Linked DNA regions of Homo sapiens: regions 1, 2, 4, 5, 6 and 7 are each linked to region 3. Evidence: promoter capture Hi-C in 16 types of primary human blood cells and fetal thymus (Javierre and others, 2016). All regions are on one chromosome and are shown on one strand. Each heading gives the region's core, a stretch centred on a gene start or on the middle of the fragment in contact. The rest is flanking DNA. Distances are from core to core; before and after follow the strand shown.

Region 1 (2,952 bases), core at 272-2,771, 660 kb before region 3:
AATAAGCATTTATTGAGCATATGTGCAGGCAGGCTATTGTTCTAGGTACCAGGAATCCAAGCAAAGATGTTTGGGAGACACACAGGTTACAGATAACTACGGTCAGTGTGGTCAGTGCTATGACAGAAAGACATGCCTCAGGAATGCGCCTAATCAAACATGAACAGTTGTGAAGCTTTCCTCATCTTGAAGAAACAGTATGAAGTAACCAGTTGAAAAATCATGCTAAGCTTATCCACAGTGAGCTAATTTTAAAAAACATTTCTATTCAATGGGCAGCCTTTTACTGACTTTGACCACTGATGGGTAGCTCCCATGGGGGATTCAGTAAAGCCCTTATTCACTTACAGGCCTATAATCTAATTAATGCAATAAATATACATCTTAAGTGATGCTTTGGCGGCAAAAACTTGAGATCAAGACCTAGATCTGTTACTTAACAGTTGTGTGATTTTGGACAAGTTAGCATCTCAAAGCCTCAAATTCATCATCTGTATAATGGATAATGATAGTATATACTTCATATAAAATGCTATAAAAATGAATGAAATAATGCAAGTAATGCACTTAGCTTTAGCCCAAGGGCTCAAAAATGTTAGCTATTGCAAAAACATCATTAACATGATTAGTCTTACAATAAATGCACACACATTCAAAAGAGCAAGCAATCATTTCAAAATCTTTTTTTAAAAAAAAGTTAGCAGAGATGCTGATATTTAAGCTAAAACTTGAAGACAGCATCCAAATGTTTATACATGATGGAACAAACAGCAGTGAGAAAATCCAAGAAAATGATAATTTATTCAGAGGGTAATGAGAAGACAATGTTGGCTTGGGCAGAGTTTCTACATGAAGTGAGAGAAGTAGGGCCTGAGTGGTACGCTGCTGCCAGATCCCAAGAGGCCTATGTGCCAGGCAAACGAGCTTGGGCTTTGTCCTGTACATGATGAGGAGCCACTGAAAATTTTTGTCCAGTAATGTAAAACGATCAAAGCAGCATTTTATAAGAAAAATCAGAAAGGGAGAGACCAGTTAGAATGTGACTGCTGGAGTCCTGCTGCCTAGCAATGAGGATATACAATTAAGTCATGAGAAAATAGAAAAAAAATGGACACAGGAAACACTCTGAAGGACAAATAAACAGGACATATTTACTGAATCCCAGTATTGGTCACGATCCTAATCTAAAAAATGTTGCCAAGTCATATTTTCCTAATGAGTATTTAAGTCTGAATTCAAGTTATGAAATTCCAGAGATTCACTGACTCTTCCAGGCATTTTAACGGCTAAGAAGGGTACTTTGCTCACCATGAGCATTAAGTCAGTGTTGGTGTTCAGAATAATGGGGATCAGTATGTATATCGATGTTCATAGCTGCATTATTCACAACCAAATGCCTACCAATGGATGAATGGTTCAACAAAACATTATATATATATAATGTAGATATTATATATATGGATTATTACAACACAACAGATTATTGCTCAGTCTTAAAAGGGAATGGAATTCTGACACCTCATACAACTTGGATGGACCTTGAAAATACTATGCTAAGTGAAATAAGCCAGACACAAAAGGGCAAATACTGTATGATTCCACCTATATGAAGTACCTAGAATAGTCAAATTCATAGAGACAGAAAGTAGAATAGTGGTTAGCAGGCAATGGGGATATGAAGGAATAGGAAGTGTTTGTTTAATGGGTACAGAGTTTCAGTTTAGGATAATAAAAATGTTCCAGAGATGGATGATGGTGGTGATTGTACAACAATGTGAATGTACTTAATATCACTAAACTGTACACTTAAGACTGATTAAAGTGGTAAATTTTATGTCATGTATGTCTTATCACAATAAAAAAATGTGAGTCTGATACCCCGATGCTTACTCAAAACAAGAGAAATGTAATTCTGCCAACCATTTAGCCTAGTGGCTCAGACAAGTAAGACTTCCTGGGTCAGACACCATTAGGTTTTGTCCAACTAGAGAAGTAAAAAAATGCCAATAATCCATCTACATCAAAATGATAATGACATGGTGGCTCAAGGCTCTCTGCTTTTCCTCTGCCCTGTTCTGACACTAAAGGAAAAAGAGAAAGGAAGTCACTCTGTCAAAGTAATCCCTCGCCTTAGTACTTGGTACTTAACACTTGTTGACAAACTCCTTGGGAAAGAAAAAGTAACTTGCCTATCTCTGCCCCTATATCCAGAGCTGTGACAGGTGCTCCACAGATAACATTCACTGAAATTTGAGGGACTAGAACTCAATATGCTTCTATCAATTAAAATGCCCCAAGTGGTGGTTATGCTAGTTGGAATGTGAATACAGAAGACATGCTCTCTGACTTTTAAGATCATATAATCTAGTTGAGGGGATGAGAACTTATAATGACATAATAATGAACATAATATAATTAGCTGCTAAATTGTGTAGTACAGATTATAAGTACTCTAGGAGGTCATAAAAATGTCTAACATCATGTAGAAATGAATAATGAGTTGGGAAATCTTCACTTACTATGTACTTGCAGAAGCAGAGAAAGCTATAAAATGGACTAAAGGCTTTTAAAAGTATCCATTATATTTTAATTTTATGTGTAATACACCTTGTCTACCAAACAGTCCCTTTCTTAACGTTTTTTCTGGATTTTCTTTTTCCTCAGCCTTGCTTACAAGTAATTAGAAAATGCCTCAGAGGACAATAAGTAAATATTCCAACAACCATTCAAAAGAATGTGTAAATTACTGTAAAACAGAGGTACTCAATGAAAATTAGTAACTTCAGTCTTCATAAAATTAAACCTCTTATTCAAAGCTTGATTTGTTCAGACAAAGCCAAGAAGAAATAGATTAACCGACTCCCCTCCTTCCCAAGTGCGGGCTAATGAGATCCAGGGAAAATTTTATTCATTTAGCATCAGAATTCAGACCATTTGCTTGAAAATGGGAAT
Region 2 (3,073 bases), core at 529-3,028, 580 kb after region 3:
TGCCCTCAGCAAGTCTTCTGAAAGAAGCCAAGGACCACATCTCCTAACACAAATTCCTACTATGGTATTACATGAAAAATAAAAAAAAAAAAGGACTCCATGCCCAAGGTCACAGAAATAAACTTAAATCATATACCCATATTTCTATACTCGAATCCCTTTCACAGATAGAAACAGATGATGTATAAGAAGGCACAAGTAGGCTGGCACAGCGGCTCATGCCTGTAATCACGGCACTTTCAGAGGCTGAGGCGGGCAGGTCACTTGAGGCCAGGAGTTCGAGACCAGCCTGACCAACTTGGTGAAACCCCATCTCTACTAAAAATATAAAAATTAGCCAGGCGTGGTGGTACATGCCTGTAGTCCCAGCTACACAGGAGGCTGAGGTACAAGAATTGCTTGAACCCAGAAGGCAGAGATTGTGGTGAGCCAAGATCATACCACTGCACTTCAGCCACTGCACTCTAGTCTCAGCAACAGAGCAAGACTCTGTCTCAAATTATTTTTTTTAAAAAAGGGAGGGGTACAGGGAGTAGAATCCTATGACACCTTAACATCAGACTCACTCATTCTCTTTAAGTACATATGAATAACTGTTTTGATTAGATCATGAAGCTTTTCTTATGACTTTGTCTTATGACTTTAAGAAAAAAACCAAACCTGCTGAAATCCAAGTTGACTCGATGGGAAGCAACTCTAATAGGTAACAGAATTGCTCCAAAATAGAACTCAGCTAATTAGATTCCTTGATAGATGGAAGCAGTGTCCCTAGACACATCCAGAAACCCAGCTGATAGGAAACAATGAGGCACAAACATACAGCCGTGAATGAACATGAAAGTATTTGTATCGCAGAAACTCAAACTGCAGCATCATTGTTTTGTATCACACTTTCCCAAAATAGGCCATAGACTGTCAGGATTGGGGTCTTAATTACAGGAGGTTAATAAAAATGCAAGCTACTATGGAACCTCAGAGATCAGAACCAGCAACATCTGGCTATGTATTATAAGGGTGGTTAGTGCTCTGAAGACATAGGGCTTGTCATATACATTCCTTGGAGGCTGACAGCCTCCAAACCAAGCTCCAGAGGGGCCAGTAACTCCAAAGAGGTGGCTGGGAATCTTCAAGCTCATGAAGTAAGGAAAGCAATCCATGTAGTTAATTTTGGTAAAACCCTTGTTTGGGGAATTGAAAACATTAAAAAAAAAAATCACTACCATCCACCTATCACATCATCCCCCTACCACTATTCACTGATCAAAAGATAGCCACTACCCAGAGTTACATAACTAAAAAAAAAAATGAATGCTATTAGAAAGAGGGAAGAAGATGTTGGCATTGGCAAGGAGGACTAGAGGGTGTTCTCAACAATTAGAAATGGATTTAGGAAGTGTCTTTATGGTCAATTTAGATAACTCAGACCAAATAACTTCCTTTATGCTGAAATATCTACCTTAATCCCCTAATTGATTATTCAATTCCATTTTTATTATAGTTTGTCCTTGTAGACAATGGCATGGGAGCTCACTCATGTTCAGCATAAAATTCAAGGAAGAATTTAAATAGTAATATCAAACATTCTAATGTTGCCCAATTGAGACCGCTTTGTGAAACCCTTCTGTACATCCATTTCAATGGCAATATTGAGGAGGTTCCAAAGACCTCATTTTTAACATATTTTCATTTTTCTATATGAAATTCTACCCTTATATAAAAGGCACCAATAAATATTTCTTTAAAAGATATTCAATATAGCTAATATCAAATCTATTTCCTAGTGTGAATTACAAAGAAATCTAGTTCTTACCTGGTATTTTGTTCACATTGGGATTTATGCATCTCACAAAATGAGGTGCTGTTGATTTCAGATTAGTCATCAATTTATTCAGGTTTTCCTAAAATGGAGACCATAATAAACACAAAATCACTTTGCAAATCACTAAAAACACCAATCCACCTCACAAATGTCTCCAAATCTATCAACTTAATCTCACAGCCAAGATGTATTCTAACAGTAAAATAATGAATTCAACATTCTTTACTGCCTACCAAATGCACATTATTTCTTTCCTATGGCAAGTCAATATTTATTTGACAGACATAGTTAAATTGTGAATCATCTCTACCTATTTTGAATTTGATAGCAATATCAAAGTTATGGCTGGGCTATAAAATGGCTTGAAAAAAGAAATTGTTTCTCAAGTTCTCTCTCTGTGGAAAACCTTTATCTTAGGTCAGATTCTCTAGAAGCCAAACCTGAGATGGGAATTCTGGTTCAAGAGATTTTTAGGGAGTGAAGAAAGCTGGGAACAGCAGGGGAAGAGAAAAGCAATGATTCAGACTCAGCTTTAGTCTGATCCTTGCAAGCAAGAGCTGTAAACACGAATGCACCAATTGCAGCATAGGTGGTCTCCCTTGAGGCAAGGGAGAGGCTAAAGTCTGGAGAGGAGGGCAAAGAGGCAGCTTAGTTTCCCCTTTGGCTAAGTGCAATTCTGACAACTCAGAGTTGTTATGAGCCAATATGCACATCAGCTGGAAGATGGGTGCAGGCATGATAAAGGGGATGTAAGTGGGAACAAACAGTGTCCTCTAAAGCCCTTGATAATAACAGCATAAACTTCAACTTTTCCAACTTGCTAGCTCCTGATACTTTATCCTTATTTGAAGATGTGAAATGTCAACTAAATAATAACATATGCAGATTGTGAGGCAATTAATATATGAATAGACGCAATTAAAAATTACTTTATGCAGAGATGCAACCGTTTGGAATGAAGCTCCTTTCTTTCGTTTCTTCTCCCCAAATGGTATAGCTAGCAAAAAAAAAAAAAGAAAAAGATGAAAACATGTAAAAAGCTCATTTTTATCACATTATCCTACCCCACTGATGGAAGCATAAATTCACCAGAGTTCTAGAACAATATGGCAATATCTACCAAAAGCTTCAAAATATTTATGTCTTTTATCACAAAATGTATATTTTTAGTGTTTTTCCTTAAGGATATAATCAGGCAACTGTGCAATGATACTCACTGAAGCATTATTTAGTCATTGCAAAAAAATTAAGCAA
Region 3 (3,025 bases), core at 144-2,643:
AACAAAACAAAATGGAATACAAGTGTTTTAAGTACGGTAACCAGCTTCCCCAAAGAAGTTAAAACTGAGAGTGATTGTTGACGGTTGTGACTGATGCTTGTTCTTGCCCCAAATGTTTCAGCACTAGTGCATTCTTTACTCACAGAATTTAGGTTCTGAGGAAAACCCTCATATGTCTTTCTGAGGATCATACACAGGAGACTTTAGCAGAACTAAAGCAAACGCAAAAGAATCCAGAATCTGGAATCTTCTGCATGTGATGCCACAGGTGACATTCTCCCACTCTGGGATGAAATAGACAGTTTCTCCCTTGCTTCTCCTGAAACCAGTACATTGGCTCAAGCTGTAGGCTCTGCCTGCAGGATGCACCAGCTCGTGTTTGAATTAAATACAGTGACTTGAAGAAGGAAGAACTCTACAGAGTCTACTCTGGCAACACCGGGAACAGAAGCAACAGGACATTCAGCTTCCAGAAACTGCAGCGGTGCAGTTCCAATGGTTTCTGGCCTCTACAGCCTGTATTCTTAGTGGTTTATGCTCCAATTTCTATACACATTGTTAGTAGCAGCGGTGTCTTCATGAGACTAATTCCGTGGTGTGATATTGTTTGAGGATGCTTATGTTCGTAGTCATGGAAATTTAGTGATTGCCTCCCCAGCATTCATTCTCTCTGTTCCCTTTCTGATGGGGACATGCAGATTGGTTGGGACTAATCTCACAGCAGCTCCAGGGATGGGCCCTAGTTACAGTGGTTGGGATGGCATTATGATCCAAACTTTGTCAAAAAGAGAGAAGATGTTTGATGGGGAGCATCTGGAGAATAAAATTATTCTGTCTTTCATGGATGCTAAAAAAAGATGCTCCCTTCATCCACTGGTTGTGAATCAGGAAGCAACCACCCCAGTTGTTCTGGTAACTATGTTGATATGGTGAAGCTATCAAAATAGTTTTAGGGCTATTCTGCCACTGGGGAAGGCTGAGACACAGAAAGGAAGTCGGTCCTGGGACATCATTAAACTGCTGGAGCAAGCTTACCTGAAGGGTCATCTGGTAAGCAGATATGGAGATGGAATTACCAGTGTCCAAGCTTTATTGAGGTAATGTTTGTGAAAGATAAAAGCAAGGCACAGGAAATATATGGGCAGCAAAACCCTTCAGACCTTGATCCAGGCCTGACACCTGTGAAAACAAAGGGAAACCCCGCAGGATTGGGCAGGAAGGGCCTCAAACTGTGATGCAGATTTCATAAAGTCTCTGCCAGCACCAAAGGGAGATCTAGAGCAAAAGCTGCTTGTTGGAAGAGTATGACAATGGGCGGAAATGCCCAGACACTAGTACTCCCACTGTACTTATTCGCCAGGGCTGTCGAGAAAGCTCAACACTGTTGTTCCAACTCAACACTGTAGAGGACCCTTAATGCCCACTGGCTGGCGGCTGTCAGTTACCGGCATCCTGCACACGTGGATAGTTTGTTCTTTTTTGAAGGGAGATCCAAGTAAGTAGTACACCTCCTTCCATTTCTGGGTTTCTTAAATTACTTGAACCACAAAATCTTTATATTATTACTGTTGTTGCTGTTATTATGATTTAAACAGTTAGACCGATTTTCTGTTACCTGTGAGCAAAGGAACTGTGATTGGTATGTGAAGTAATATTTTTAGATTTAAAAAGATTGTCAGTTCAGTTTAACATATACTTAAGAGGCAAGATACTTTAGTTATATTATCTCTGACCTTCAAAAACAAACAAATGAACAAACTCACAAATGCAGAGCTTATCACAGAACTGTTATGTGGTTGGAACTAATAAATGATAGCTATGATGATTCATCTCCATTTCAGTTATATTGCTCTTCAGTGTTTAATAATGGTAATTGGGTTTTTAGTTCCCAAAATGTGACTTTTTTTCTTGCACAGAAGTTAATGCTGATAGTTTCTTATGATTGTGTTAATGTTGAACTGACAAAAGGTATAAATTTTATAACTTAGTTTTTATAAGCCTTTACTTTTAACTCACAAATCTTGTTGCTATATTTGCAAATCTAATAATGGTGTAAGAATTTTAAGCACTTAACTTCATTTGTTATTTAATTAATGCTCAATTAGTTTATAAATTTTATGGATCAGATCTCTCAAATGTTAACAGTATATAGAAACTTTATTAACTAGATATTTTTAGACATTTCAAACAATTATTACCAATTTGAAAACCAGTTCTCCCAAATAATTCAAACACCTATTAAGCAAACTTACAAGTCTAACATGCAAGATATTTGCAATCTTTGTGAAAATCTAATAAATTTAATAAATTAGACAAATTTAATAAAGCAGATTCTCTTATCCATTTCAAACATCTTAAAGCAGATAAAGCATATATGAAGCAACACAATGACTATAAAATAGCTTACACATGCAAAAATCAATTCCACTTAAATCTATACTTCCTGGAGTTGGACACTTAGTTACCCAACTAAGAGGATGGTTACCCAAGTAACCATCATCAAGGGCCTGCTGTGGTTACTTGTGTAAAACTTGGGATCATCAGAAGGTTACCAACTCAGGTTGGGGTAGGGACTGTGGCCTGGGGACACTATCTAGGTGTTACTTAAAGAATGGTACTTCCTAAGCCACCAAATAATACCTTCCAAGTCTCCTCCTATAATCTGGTTTTAGTTGCTTCATCCCTGGCACACTCCAAGCTTGTAGATCTCAACTGGGATACAATTTAGTTTCACAACTCAATTTATCATGTGTCTGTCAAGTTTCATCTTTACCTACATTTTCAACTTTGTATTATTTGATTTCCATAGATGGAATCTGAATTCTCTAGCTATATTGTAACTTACATCTTTGCTGCCTGATTTGACATAAGAAATTCAGCACCCTCTTTTTTTGTGTGTCTCAGCTCTATCCCAAAGTAATTTTTGGAGAACAAAAACATCTTTTCTGCTCTTAAGTTGTTATCATTCTAGTAGAGAGAGCCAAGACATATACAAAAATCACCTACACTAAAAGGCAAAAATGAA
Region 4 (2,700 bases), core at 106-2,605, 560 kb after region 3:
GTTATGTCTGGCAAACATATATTATTTAAGTAATCTGAGTATGTAAGTCTTCACATCAGGATCAATTTTTTTTTTTTTTTTTACATTTTATGCCATTGGTCTCGTCATGAGTAAAAAGAAGAGTGTCATTTTTATTTTTTTGACGTATAGCTGCAAGTTCCCAAAAGTTTACATCTCATATACCTTACACCATTCTTTCTCATTTGCTAGTCAGGTATTTTCTGTTACGTCCTTCTAGATTATGCATCTGGTCTCTTTACAACTATAAAATAAAGTCCAGTAAAGAAAAAAAAAATTGTTTCCTAGGCTTGTTATCCTTGCCTTGGGTCTTGAGCTATCTGGCCCTGGAGTCCTAAGGATAAATGAAATGAGAAAGCTGTTCCTTCTAATATAAGGTCTCCAGCAATCTCATGTCAACAGAAAGGTGGCTTACTTCCTCAGCTCTTCTGCCAGGTGTCGCTGGCTGCTTTCCAGGTTCTCCATACTTTCCCGATTCAGCTTTAAATTGCCCTCCAGTTTGTGCAGTTCCCTTTCACAGTTCATTCTCGCTTTTCTCTCCTGCTCAAGGGCACCCTCAAGCTGACAAAAGGAAACATTATTTAGCTAAATAAATAGGTAGAGTTTATACTTCACTAGATGTGTTCATTAACCACTTACCTTCTGGAAAAAGAAAGACACAAGCACAAATTCTATAAATGATGCCCAGTAACATAGATATTTCCAAATAAATATTGCATATGTCAATAGGTTAACAAAAGAATCCAGAAATCACAGGGATGGAAGAAAACTAGAAATAACAGAATATGAGTTCTGTCTTAGGGAAGGAACCAACAAGAAATGGCCAGTGAGCCCTTGATTGATCGTTTTCCAATGATAGGAAGCTCACTTCTTCACATGGCGGCTCATTTCACGGGTGGATAAGTCCATTTACTTGGGAGTGCTTCTTCATAAGAAGCCAAAATATTCCCTGTAAATTCTATCCACAAGTACAAGCTCTGCTCCCTGGAGCAACACCAAGCAAATCAGTTTCCGCATGATCATCCTTAATAATTTGCAAGAACCCCCTGGCATCACTGGCCCATTCAAACACATTCTCACATGTCATGATTTCCAAGCCCCGTCACCACCTTGGTACCCTCTTCCAGTTCATAACATTATGTCATATTCTGGTTCCTCACTAAATGTTCCCCATCAGAACATTCCAGTTTTGTATGGATTAGTATTGCCAGGAATTATATAGAGGTTAATTTTCCAGGAAGCTAGATAACAGTCACAATATGGCTTTTTATTTATTGATATGTTTACTTTAAAACAATGGAAGATATCCTCTGTAACCAGCCAAAGAGATGAAATTCAAATTGGGAAGGAGGGAGAAATTCTGGAAAGGATTCCAAATTCATACGCTGAAATCCTAATTCCCAGTATGATGGTGTTGGGAGGTGGGCCCTTTAGGAAGTGATGAGGTCATGAAGGTAGAGCCCCCATGAATGGAATTAGTCCTTATAAAAGAGATCCTGGAGAGCTCCCTTGTTCCTTGTGTGATGTGAGGACACAGGGAGAAGTCACCCTCCATAAACCAGGAAATGAGTTCTCACTAGACACCAACTCTGCTGGTACTTTGATCATGGACTTCCCAGCCTCCAGAACTGTAGGAAATAAACTGCTATTTATTTGCCACCCAGTTTATGGTATTTTATTATAGCAGCCTGAATGGACTAAGACACCAGGAGAGAATAAGTGTGTGGGTGGGTGTGTGGGTGTGGGTAGGTGTGTGTGATGTGCATATATAAGCACACATATAAACACCCAAAAATCCTTATGCTGAGGCTTTGTGAGATATGTTATTATTGGAAATAGGAACAAATGTAACACAACGAATAGATAATAGAAGAAATTTATATAGAGGCAGGAAGAAAGAGCAGCAGATAAGAAGAAAAAAAAAAAACCTAACCACTCTTGTCAACAATTTTATAAAGGCTACACTTTGGGGACTACTGTGAGCATAAATGCATACACTATGTCAGCTGGGGTGGGAAAAAGGAAGAATTATGAACCCACACATTGAAACTGGTGTGAAACAGCTTTATTTCACAGGGCATTTAGAGGCAAAATAGGGGCATCATCTCTAGAATCTTAAAAGTATTTTCCAATAGTGTAGGTAGAACACAACTTGTGGCTCACATATCTTTCAACCATAAATAAATCTCAGCACACCACTGGAAACACACATGGCCTTTAAAACTAATCCTTCAACACTAGTGGTAAATAGAGTACCAGCATATCTGTGGGGCAAAATACCAGGTTCTGTGGGAGATATGGGGAAAAGCCAGTCACCTAGAGTGATAACCCTTTACCATTCATCTTAATGTTCTTTTTCCATTGCCCAGGGTTGAATGAAAATTGCATTTAAAAACCGACAGATTATATGCAGAGACCTCTCTTATACTATCGTGGTTTTGTGTATAAGAAAAAGAACCCTTTTATTCTCAATAATCAGGAAAACAAACTATGCTACTAGGTTTTTCTGAAACTGTCAAGATAAATTAATGAAGTAAAAACTGGAGTTATGTGTATATGTAGACAGATAGATAACTAACCAGATACACCGTTACTGACCTCATCAACTTGCTGTTCCAGCTTCAGATTTGCTTTGCTCAGGCTGCTGAGCTTCTCCTCCTCCATGTGCAGGTCATCCAGGGT
Region 5 (2,795 bases), core at 187-2,686, 610 kb after region 3:
TTACAAAACGAGAGGAGTTGTCATTTCTCAGGGTTTTAGCATTTCCAAATGCTTCCAAGATAGTATTCGCTTGCATGATTTGATCTTCTAACGCCCCCTGAGACACATGCAAGAGAAGTACAGCTGATGAAACTATTAGTAGAATTCTGTAATGCGGCAAGCCCTCCATCTCCAGGTCAAACCCCATTCTTGCTTTGATAACCAATGGCCAAAAGCTGCTTCCAAATTTGGTTATATTATCTTCGAATGAGAAATCAGAAAAACAGTTGGATGACAGAGGCTAACAATATACAATACCCCTATGAATATGTGGGAGCTCGTTTATTTGCAATGCTTCTTTTTTGGTTGGCATTGGCCTGAGGGGGAAAAGCAAATGGTCACCAAATAAAAAAGAAAAACATACCAAAGCTTATTTCCAGACAAACATATCATATATTTCCCCCATCATTAATCTTCCTCTCTTCCCATCCGATCTTTGCACTTGGAAATTTATCCTAGGATAATACAACAGACTCTTGGTGTTATTAAACTATACTTTTGCTTGCTTCTTTTCCTAAGTAATCTAGAGGTTCACATGAGTAGTGACTTTTAATAGTATTGATCTTGAATTTGAATCACGTGTGCTCAGGCTGATAGGCAAAAACAGATCATCTACCTATCTACCATATCTACATGGCTTTGTTGTTTTCCAGTCAGCCTCAAAGACCAATTTTATGGGGGTAATTATGTAGTATATGGTATTTAATAATTTGTGGATTTATAAATATTATATCCCTTCTTATATCCCTACTACTATATAATATTCCCCATCTTATGGGGGGACTTATATAGTATACTGTACTCAATAATTTATGGATTTATAAATATTATATCCCTTTTCAGTAATATGGGTTTACTGTCCTTCAAATAAGTTAGAGAACATTATATATATATGAGCAAGGATTTCCATAGGAGTGTTATATTTATGTATTGTATTATATATTATCATAAAACTCAATGGCTAGACCAAACCATTTAATGCGCACCAAAAAAAAAAAAAAACCACAAACATCTAAAATGCTTGTAAAAACAAAGTTACATCTAGTGAATAAAAGAGTTCAGTGATGGCCAGGGGCGGTGGCTCACGCCTGTAATCCCAGCACTTTGGAGGCCTACGCGGGAGGATCACGAGGTCAGGAGATCGAGACCATCCTGGCTAACACAGCGAAACCCCGTCTCTACTAAAAATACAAAAAATTAGCCGGGCACGGTGGCGGGCACCTGTAGTCCCAGCTGCTCAGAAGGCTGAGGCAGGAGAATGGCGTGAACCCAGGAGGCGGAGGTTGCAGTGAGCCGAGACAGCACCACTGCAGTCCGGCCTGGGCGAAAGAGCGAGACTCCGTAAAAAAAAAAAAAAAAAAAAAAAAAAAAAGAGCTCAATGATACCCAAAGAAATCAATAATCAAATTCAGGAACGTGGTGGTAAAAAAAAGAAACTTCTATAGTTTAAAAATTAGGTCAGATGGCTATTTTAATATATTTCTTACTTTGCAAAAACAGCAAACATCCAGTATCGAATTGAAAAAAGCAAAATAATCATTCCAGACATAGAAAAATGAGAGGTCTAACAGCTCAATAACTCATTGATTTTGAGTTCCATTCAGCATTACCTGATTTTATTTTGCATACCAATGTTTATGGTCTTAGTTATCCTCAAGTTATTATGATGTCCATTAACATGTTAATGGAGCTAAACAAAGTAAGCTAAACTAAAATGAACAAGGATTTTTTTTTTAATAGGGAAGGCAAAGTTTTTCTGAATGTGGTATGTGATTAACATTGAGGGGTATATTCATTGGGCATTTAGAATTTGATCCAGGAGTTAGGTATGAATGAAGAAAAATTTTATTGGTGCATATTTGTGGGAATCTGATATCTCACAGTAGCTAAAGGGATTCAGAAATATCCAAGCCACTGATGACCCTAGCCTTTAGGTAAGATGGTTTGAATCTTGAGGACTTAACTTACAGGTCCAATAAACAAAGACCAGGCCAGAAAATGCCCCTTTAAGCAGATGTGAAATTAATTACATAATTCATGTTTTCATGTTATTGTTTGGAGCACTTGATGATCCTCTCAAGGACCAAAGGAAATATTTAAAAAAATACTTTTCTATAATTTGCAAATTGTCCTGTGGTGCTTGTGGCCTCACTTCCCAAAAGTGGTCCGGACACAACCTCCATGATCCAGTGGATAGGGCCACCTCATCTTTTCTACCAAGCTATATAAACACTTACCTGCTTTTTCCTGGATTCAATCATGGCTGCTATGGTGGCAAAATACTGGATAATATGTTTGCTGTTCACAGTCTTTCCAGCACCAGATTCTCCTCTGTGATTTGAAATTCAGTGATACAGTTAACTGGTTCTGATTATCAATGCAACGAAAGTTAGGTAATTTTGATTATATAGGCTATGGCAAGCAGGGAAGCTTTTACATAAAAGTAGAGCTTCAGATGGAACTTGAGGATATATTGACATTTAATTGGTTGGGAGAAGGGCAAGGACATTTCAGGCTGGAAAAACAGCATGAGCAAAAATCTGGAGTTAGAAAGATCACAACTTTTTGTAAATATTAGGAAGCCTGTTCCTTGTGGTCCTAATAACAAGCAGCAGGAAAGCACCTCTTCTAACTAGACAAGTCTCCTCATTACCAGCTGTTCAAGAGATTTTCATGTATGAAGGCTACCACACAGCCAAGTCCAACCCTCTTCTCAGAAGAGGGCTACCAATCACTTCACCAGGCAGTTGGGCTTT
Region 6 (2,746 bases), core at 138-2,637, 530 kb after region 3:
ACAATGTGTGATCAAAACTGAATTCTTAATTTTATTTAACTTTAATATAAATTTAAATAGTTACCTGTAGTGTAGTAGAGGCTTCTATATGTATTGGACGGCCCTGCTGGGTTTAATAAACATTTTTATCATTTAAATGGTGATCTGGCTAACCTAGCAGCATTATTCCCCAGAGATAATCTAGTGTGGAAAGAACACTAGATCCTGACGGGTCCTCAAGTGTCCTTTATGCAAATTAGGAAAAAAGCACATTTTCAGGAAGATACAGCTCTGAGGGCACAAGGTTTAGTTAATGGCAGCCTCAGCCAGACCCCTTTGGGTGGTAAATGAGGAGCCACAATACACAATGACTCTGAAAAGGATGCAGGCTTTGGAGTCAGATGAACTTGGGTTCAAACTGTGACCTCTCCTCTTGTTTAATTTTATTTTTCTTTAAAGGAAAAACTTTTAAAACCTTTATGTGGCATTTACATGGCATATATTTAATTATAGAAGTAAACAAGACAAAGACAAAATCCCTGCCCTAAAGAGCCCAAAAGAAATAAGGGGATACACAAAATACACAGGCAAATACATTAATAAATAAAATTTCTAATAGCAGTAAAACAAACACAGCAGATAAACACGATCTAGAATGTTTGGCTCCTTCTCATCATCCCTCTAAGACTTCGGTGAAGGGCCTTTAAGCAACGGGAAGGGCAGTTATAAAAGTCCTAAGGCAGGAGTGATGGTGCCTGGTTTAAGAGGCAGAAGGGAAGCCAGGGCAGCTGGAGGGGAGTAAATGAGGGAAGCAGATGTAGGAAGTAGGTCACAGAAGGAGGCTGGAGCCAGATCAGGGGGGCTTGTAGGCCAATTGGAAGTCACTGGGAAGGCAGCCAGAGAGATCTTCTAAAATATAACTCATTTCACTATGCGTTTAAGTTCCTTCACAGTACATCACTAGGTGTATGACCTTGGACATGATATTTTTCTTCTCAGAGCCTTGGTTTTTTCATATATAAGGATGCAATTCTATCTGCTTCATTTGACTGATATGAAGATTGAGATAACATGACAGAAGTATCTGGTACAATGTCTGATGCACAAACAATGATACATTTTTAAATTTGTATATAATATAGAAAGTATGGAGAGTTAAGGGAATAAAATGGTACAATATTTTAAAACAGACTCAACTACCTGTGTTTTCACAGTATACGCCTTCATAGTATGGTCATGTACAAGTAAGATAGTTTGGGGTCTTAGTAATAAGATGCCTTGACTATGAACTAAGAATTCATTTAAATATCAGGGCTCAAAGAATTCATATCTCATGTTAGTCACTATGCTTTCATCTTCCAGAATCACTTCCACTGGAGTCACCTTCTAGCAACATTATACACTCATAGGAAGAAATGACTAATTTCTATAATTTATTGACAATTTAAAAGTAATATTGAGCTAACCCAGTCCCACTTATTTTATTCTAGGCTTTTATTTAATTTCACTTTTTTATGAGCAGTTTCAAAATCAAAATCCTGAAAGAGCCTTGCTGCCCTTCTGTTCAAGTACTTATACAAGATGGGAACACACACTTTGCTTGCTCTAAACCTGCAACGAAGCAATTTGAATCACCGAGGAAGATCCTTCAGTCATCAGGGTTCTTCCTGGCATGGTTTTTCCCCCATAACTTCTAGGGCATTTTCCCTTCTTCTTTTACAAAACATCTTCAGGCTGATTCATCAAGCACTATTTTTTAAAAAAAAAAACACACAGTCAAGAAACTAGTGAGAAATAATAGATACATTACTTTGGTCTCCTTTTCCAGCTGCCCTCTCAGGTCTTCAATCTGCCGAGTGAAGTTGCTCTTTTCCCTGGAAAGTTGGTTTATCAGAGCCTCCTTCTCTTCAAGCCTCCGTAGGAACTCGCCTACAGAAAGATTTCACAAAACTACATAATTACAGTCTTCCTATCTATTGCCTCCTTCACTTGACTTACTGACTTTAAGGGTAGCCAGAATGACTCCTACCCACATATTTTTGATATTTAGGAAGGGTCTGAGAGTCCTATTATTCAGCAAAACCGTGGCAATGATCCTTTCCAGGACTCAGAAGAGAGTCCTAAAAATGAGCTGATTTTTAGTAATAAGTATGAATCGATAACAGATGATATTAGTTACCATTTATTGAGAAACTTCTATGCTCTAGGTACTTAACGTATGTTATCTAGTTTAATTTTCATAACTCCTTGATAGTGTAGGTATTATACTAACCATTTTGCAGAGGAGGAAACAGAGCAACTTAAATATGACTGAAACAGAAACATACACAGTTCGTAATTGGTGAAGGTAGATTCAAATGAAGTTCTTGAAGACCACATTCTTCTATACCATACTCCCTTGTTTATTATATGTGGCTTTGTACACTTCTGTCTATATAATTTTTAGATAATTATAACTTTTATTACCTCACTTGTAAGATGAAGATAACAATAAGATTCTTAATGAAAACTAAATTAGTGTGAATATATTTTATAGACTGAAATGCTAAATAAATATTAGCAGTAGTCACTAAATGGTAGGAAATGTGACGATGAGAGGGAGAAATTCTATCATACTCTAGTCTATCGTCCCTGCTTAACTTATCCTATTAATTATAGTCGGGCCTTCCATATCTGTAAGTTCTGCTTTGTGAATTCAACCTACCGAGGTCCTACAATTTAACTCAATTCTGACACTATTTTCCTGGAGACAGTGTCAGATACACAC
Region 7 (3,019 bases), core at 241-2,740, 590 kb after region 3:
TCTATAAACATAGCATGTCATGCATGCATGTTGTGGTGAATGTCTAAGAAGGTATGAAACTGCTGAACAACTCTAACCCCCTGCCAAGAAATAGCTCAGTTATGTGTCCTGCTGATCGTGATTCAAGTTTAGCTCAATGTAGTCTATTTTAACATGCGTGGAGCACTTACGGCTTACAGGGCATTGTTTTAGATGCTTGGAGTACTAAGATGAATTAGACACAGTTCATGCTTCAAAGAGGTTAGAAGACAAAAATCTAAGCAGATTATTTCAATATAGTATAGTTAGTATTATAGTAGAGGTAGAATTATCCATTTATAGAGTAAGCTAAATTAATAAATTGATTTTGATCAGTCATTTAAATGTTTTAAATAACACAGACACATCAGTTACCTTAATATACCAAGGGAAACACATCTATTCTAGTCATCATATATAAGATGACTGTCTTATATTACAAATTTGTACATTTGTCTATCTCTTTTTCAGAGTTAGGGTGTATACTGAGTAAGACAATCAGTATCACCTGAGTACTAGCTATATATCCTTTGGAATGTTACTTAACATTCTCTTTGACTCAGTTTCCTCAACTAGGAAAAACATAAATTATGCATTTCTGCCCTACTTAGCTCTGAGTATTATTGTAAGAATAGAAGGCAATAATACTGTGAATGCTTTATCCATACTATGTGTGACACCACTTCCTCTTTCCAGAAAGGCTACATTTCTCAGCCCCTTTCTGTAGCTAAAGGTATTATTTTACTAATTCTTACCAATGGACTGTTAGTGAAAGTGATATTACTTCTAGCCCAAGCAGTTAAAGGTGGTTGTACTTTCTCTGCAAATGATCTTTTCTCCTTGTGCAGTCACTTGGGAGGCCGTGTGTCCCAGATGGCATAGAACTACAAAGAACTACATAGAACTACAAAACAGAGAAGGCTGTATACTCTGTATTGCACTTGATGTAAGAAATATTTTGTTGTCACTGAGATTTTAGTGTGTGTGCATTACTGCAGCCCAGCTTATCTCATATTTTCCCTTACACACTACAGATATAAATTATTATTTTTGAAACATACTAGCATGCTTAGATGGTCTCATTACCCAGTGGCCCTGGGAATATTTACTGCATTAAGGCAAAGCCTCAAAGAATTTGTTATTCTCTACTATAACATTCTCCTGGATGCTAAACAAAATCTGCATGGCGTTCCATCTCTCATTTCTGTTTTCAACACACACCTCCTTTCAAATATTGATTTTTAGCATATGTCCTAAAACTGTTTCTCAACTAACGTGTCACCATGTGTCTTTTATGCCAAAGGAGCCAATATGCCAAATACGTGAAGCATGCCAATTTGCCAATTTTATCCATGTTAGGAATGAACAGCTTTGAAAGCTTCCTCGCTGGATGACAAAGATGTTGATCACAACAAGTGGAGGGTTTGTCTGCATCTGCAAAGATACTTGCTACCTAAGGGAAAACTTTCAAAATGTATGTTTCAGACAAGAGCATTTACTGTGGTGTGCATCACAAGTAAAAACATTTGGAATAGTCATCCCAAGAGCTCTTTTTTGCTTATTTATAGAAGCTTTCATTATTGCAAACATCCTTAGTAGTTGAAAAATATACAGTACAATATATATACAATTATTGGAAGATCATAGAATAATAATGCTCTTGAAATATCACCTTACCTGTTCTATAGTTTGACCTCTGGTAACATATTCGTTACCAACTTTGATTCTAGGATGGATCAAGCACTTTACCAACTCAGAGGAGTTAATGCCCATGAGGAAAGCAGCTTTGTCAGCATCTGGTCATCAGAAATAGAAGAAAAGGAAGGAGAGAGGAAAACACTGTTAAGATTCATTCCATTATAGCCAAACTAACTACCCAGAGGACAGAAAGATAGTGTGTTTACATCAGCGTAGCAAAGTAGATTGTAGTTTTCAAATAAATGCCTGAATCCTAAAAGTTTAAAGGAAATTATTTCTTCGAAATACAAGTCAAAGCCACATTGAAATCTCACTTCTTCAGTTTGTTGGCATTAAGGAAAAAGAAAATATAATGCCACTCACAGCCACTAGAATGACTATAATCAAAACGGCAGACAATAACAAGTGTTGACAAGGATGTGGAAAAATGTGAACCCTCATGCATTGTGGGTGGGAATGCAAAATGGTGTGTATTTGCCGTGAGAAACAGTTTGACAGTTACTCTGAAGTTAATCATAGAGTTACTATGGAACCCAGCAATATCACTTTTAGGTACACACCCAAGATAAATGAAAACATATGTTCACACAAAAAATTGTACACAAATGTTTCTAGCAGCATTATTCACAATAGTCAAAAGGTGGGAAAAAGTGAAATGTCCATCACTGATGAATGGATTAAAAAATGTGGTATACTCATATAATACGATATTGCTAGTCATTTTACAAAAATGAAGTATTGATGTGCACTACAACATGGCTGAAACTTGAAAACATTATGCTAAGTGAAAGGAGTCAGACACGAAAGGCCACATATTGCAGGATTCCATTTCTATGAACTGTTCAGAACAGGCAATCCATAAGGACAGAAAGTCGATTTTGGTTGCCACAGGCTGAGGAGAAGCAAAAATCAAAATAACTACTAATAGTTGCTACTAAAAGTTTATTTTTGTGATAATAAAATGTTCCGGAATTAGATAGTGGTGGTTGCACAGCCTTGAGAATATACTAATACCCAATAACTATACAGTTTAAAAGGTGAATATTATGGTGTATGAATCTTCTAAAAGAGGACTAGTATCAAGAAACAGAATCTTTTAAAAATTGAGATATAATTTGTCTGAAGGACATGGAAAATGCCATCTTTATAATTTGTTTTCTCTTTCTATGTATGTACTTGTGGACTCTTTCAACAAAACACGGACTTGGGCCATGTAATCTGATAATTATAGACAAGCACCAATCAACAGAAGCCAGGACACTTGCCAGCTATCTGTAAAACACCCTTCCTTTCCCGGCAAGGT

Evidence for each region. Contacts are between HindIII fragments. The CHiCAGO score rates a contact against its expected background, and 5 or more counts as called.
Region 1: a fragment that was not itself captured here is called in contact with the fragment with the promoter of LINC00636 in region 3 in 1 of 17 cell types (non-activated CD4 T cells); the score reaches 5.3 in non-activated CD4 T cells.
Region 2: a fragment that was not itself captured here is called in contact with the fragment with the promoter of LINC00636 in region 3 in 4 of 17 cell types (erythroblasts, monocytes, megakaryocytes and 1 more); the score reaches 6.4 in erythroblasts.
Region 4: a fragment that was not itself captured here is called in contact with the fragment with the promoter of LINC00636 in region 3 in 3 of 17 cell types (activated CD4 T cells, total CD8 T cells and M1 macrophages); the score reaches 5.8 in activated CD4 T cells.
Region 5: a fragment that was not itself captured here is called in contact with the fragment with the promoter of LINC00636 in region 3 in 5 of 17 cell types (neutrophils, activated CD4 T cells, erythroblasts and 2 more); the score reaches 7.8 in neutrophils.
Region 6: a fragment that was not itself captured here is called in contact with the fragment with the promoter of LINC00636 in region 3 in 8 of 17 cell types (M2 macrophages, activated CD4 T cells, M1 macrophages and 5 more); the score reaches 7.4 in M2 macrophages.
Region 7: a fragment that was not itself captured here is called in contact with the fragment with the promoter of LINC00636 in region 3 in 11 of 17 cell types (M1 macrophages, M2 macrophages, megakaryocytes and 8 more); the score reaches 11.5 in M1 macrophages.

The regions. Positions count from the first base shown.
Region 1 is chr3:107,221,943-107,224,894 of GRCh38, forward strand. The region is part of intron 1 of LINC00882 (long intergenic non-protein coding RNA 882); the gene reads right to left. The region is part of intron 1 of LOC124909404 (a long non-coding RNA gene); the gene reads left to right. Among named protein-coding and RNA genes, the nearest start is that of LINC00882, 17 kb to the right of the region's middle. The HindIII fragment of the contact is 2,586 bases long and covers 229-2,814 here.
Region 2 is chr3:108,457,552-108,460,624 of GRCh38, forward strand. It overlaps MYH15 (myosin heavy chain 15), which reads right to left. Exons shown (of 41, transcript NM_014981.3): 17 at 2,749-2,816; 18 at 1,811-1,898. Among named protein-coding and RNA genes, the nearest start is that of MYH15, 52 kb to the right of the region's middle. The HindIII fragment of the contact is 2,330 bases long and covers 614-2,943 here.
Region 3 is chr3:107,881,812-107,884,836 of GRCh38, forward strand. LINC00636 (long intergenic non-protein coding RNA 636) reads left to right here and starts at 1,394. Exons shown (of 3, transcript NR_015394.1): 1 at 1,394-1,495. The HindIII fragment of the contact is 1,611 bases long and covers 1,086-2,696 here.
Region 4 is chr3:108,437,121-108,439,820 of GRCh38, forward strand. MYH15 (myosin heavy chain 15) reads right to left here. Exons shown (of 41, transcript NM_014981.3): 24 at 2,617-2,700; 25 at 434-579. Among named protein-coding and RNA genes, the nearest start is that of MYH15, 72 kb to the right of the region's middle. The HindIII fragment of the contact is 7,935 bases long and covers 1-2,700 here.
Region 5 is chr3:108,495,776-108,498,570 of GRCh38, forward strand. MYH15 (myosin heavy chain 15) reads right to left here. Exons shown (of 41, transcript NM_014981.3): 6 at 2,277-2,370; 7 at 5-97. Among named protein-coding and RNA genes, the nearest start is that of MYH15, 13 kb to the right of the region's middle. The HindIII fragment of the contact is 2,061 bases long and covers 407-2,467 here.
Region 6 is chr3:108,415,023-108,417,768 of GRCh38, forward strand. It overlaps MYH15 (myosin heavy chain 15), which reads right to left. Exons shown (of 41, transcript NM_014981.3): 29 at 1,790-1,908. Among named protein-coding and RNA genes, the nearest start is that of MYH15, 94 kb to the right of the region's middle. The HindIII fragment of the contact is 7,305 bases long and covers 1-2,746 here.
Region 7 is chr3:108,474,702-108,477,720 of GRCh38, forward strand. MYH15 (myosin heavy chain 15) reads right to left here. Exons shown (of 41, transcript NM_014981.3): 12 at 1,696-1,814. Among named protein-coding and RNA genes, the nearest start is that of MYH15, 34 kb to the right of the region's middle. The HindIII fragment of the contact is 193 bases long and covers 1,395-1,587 here.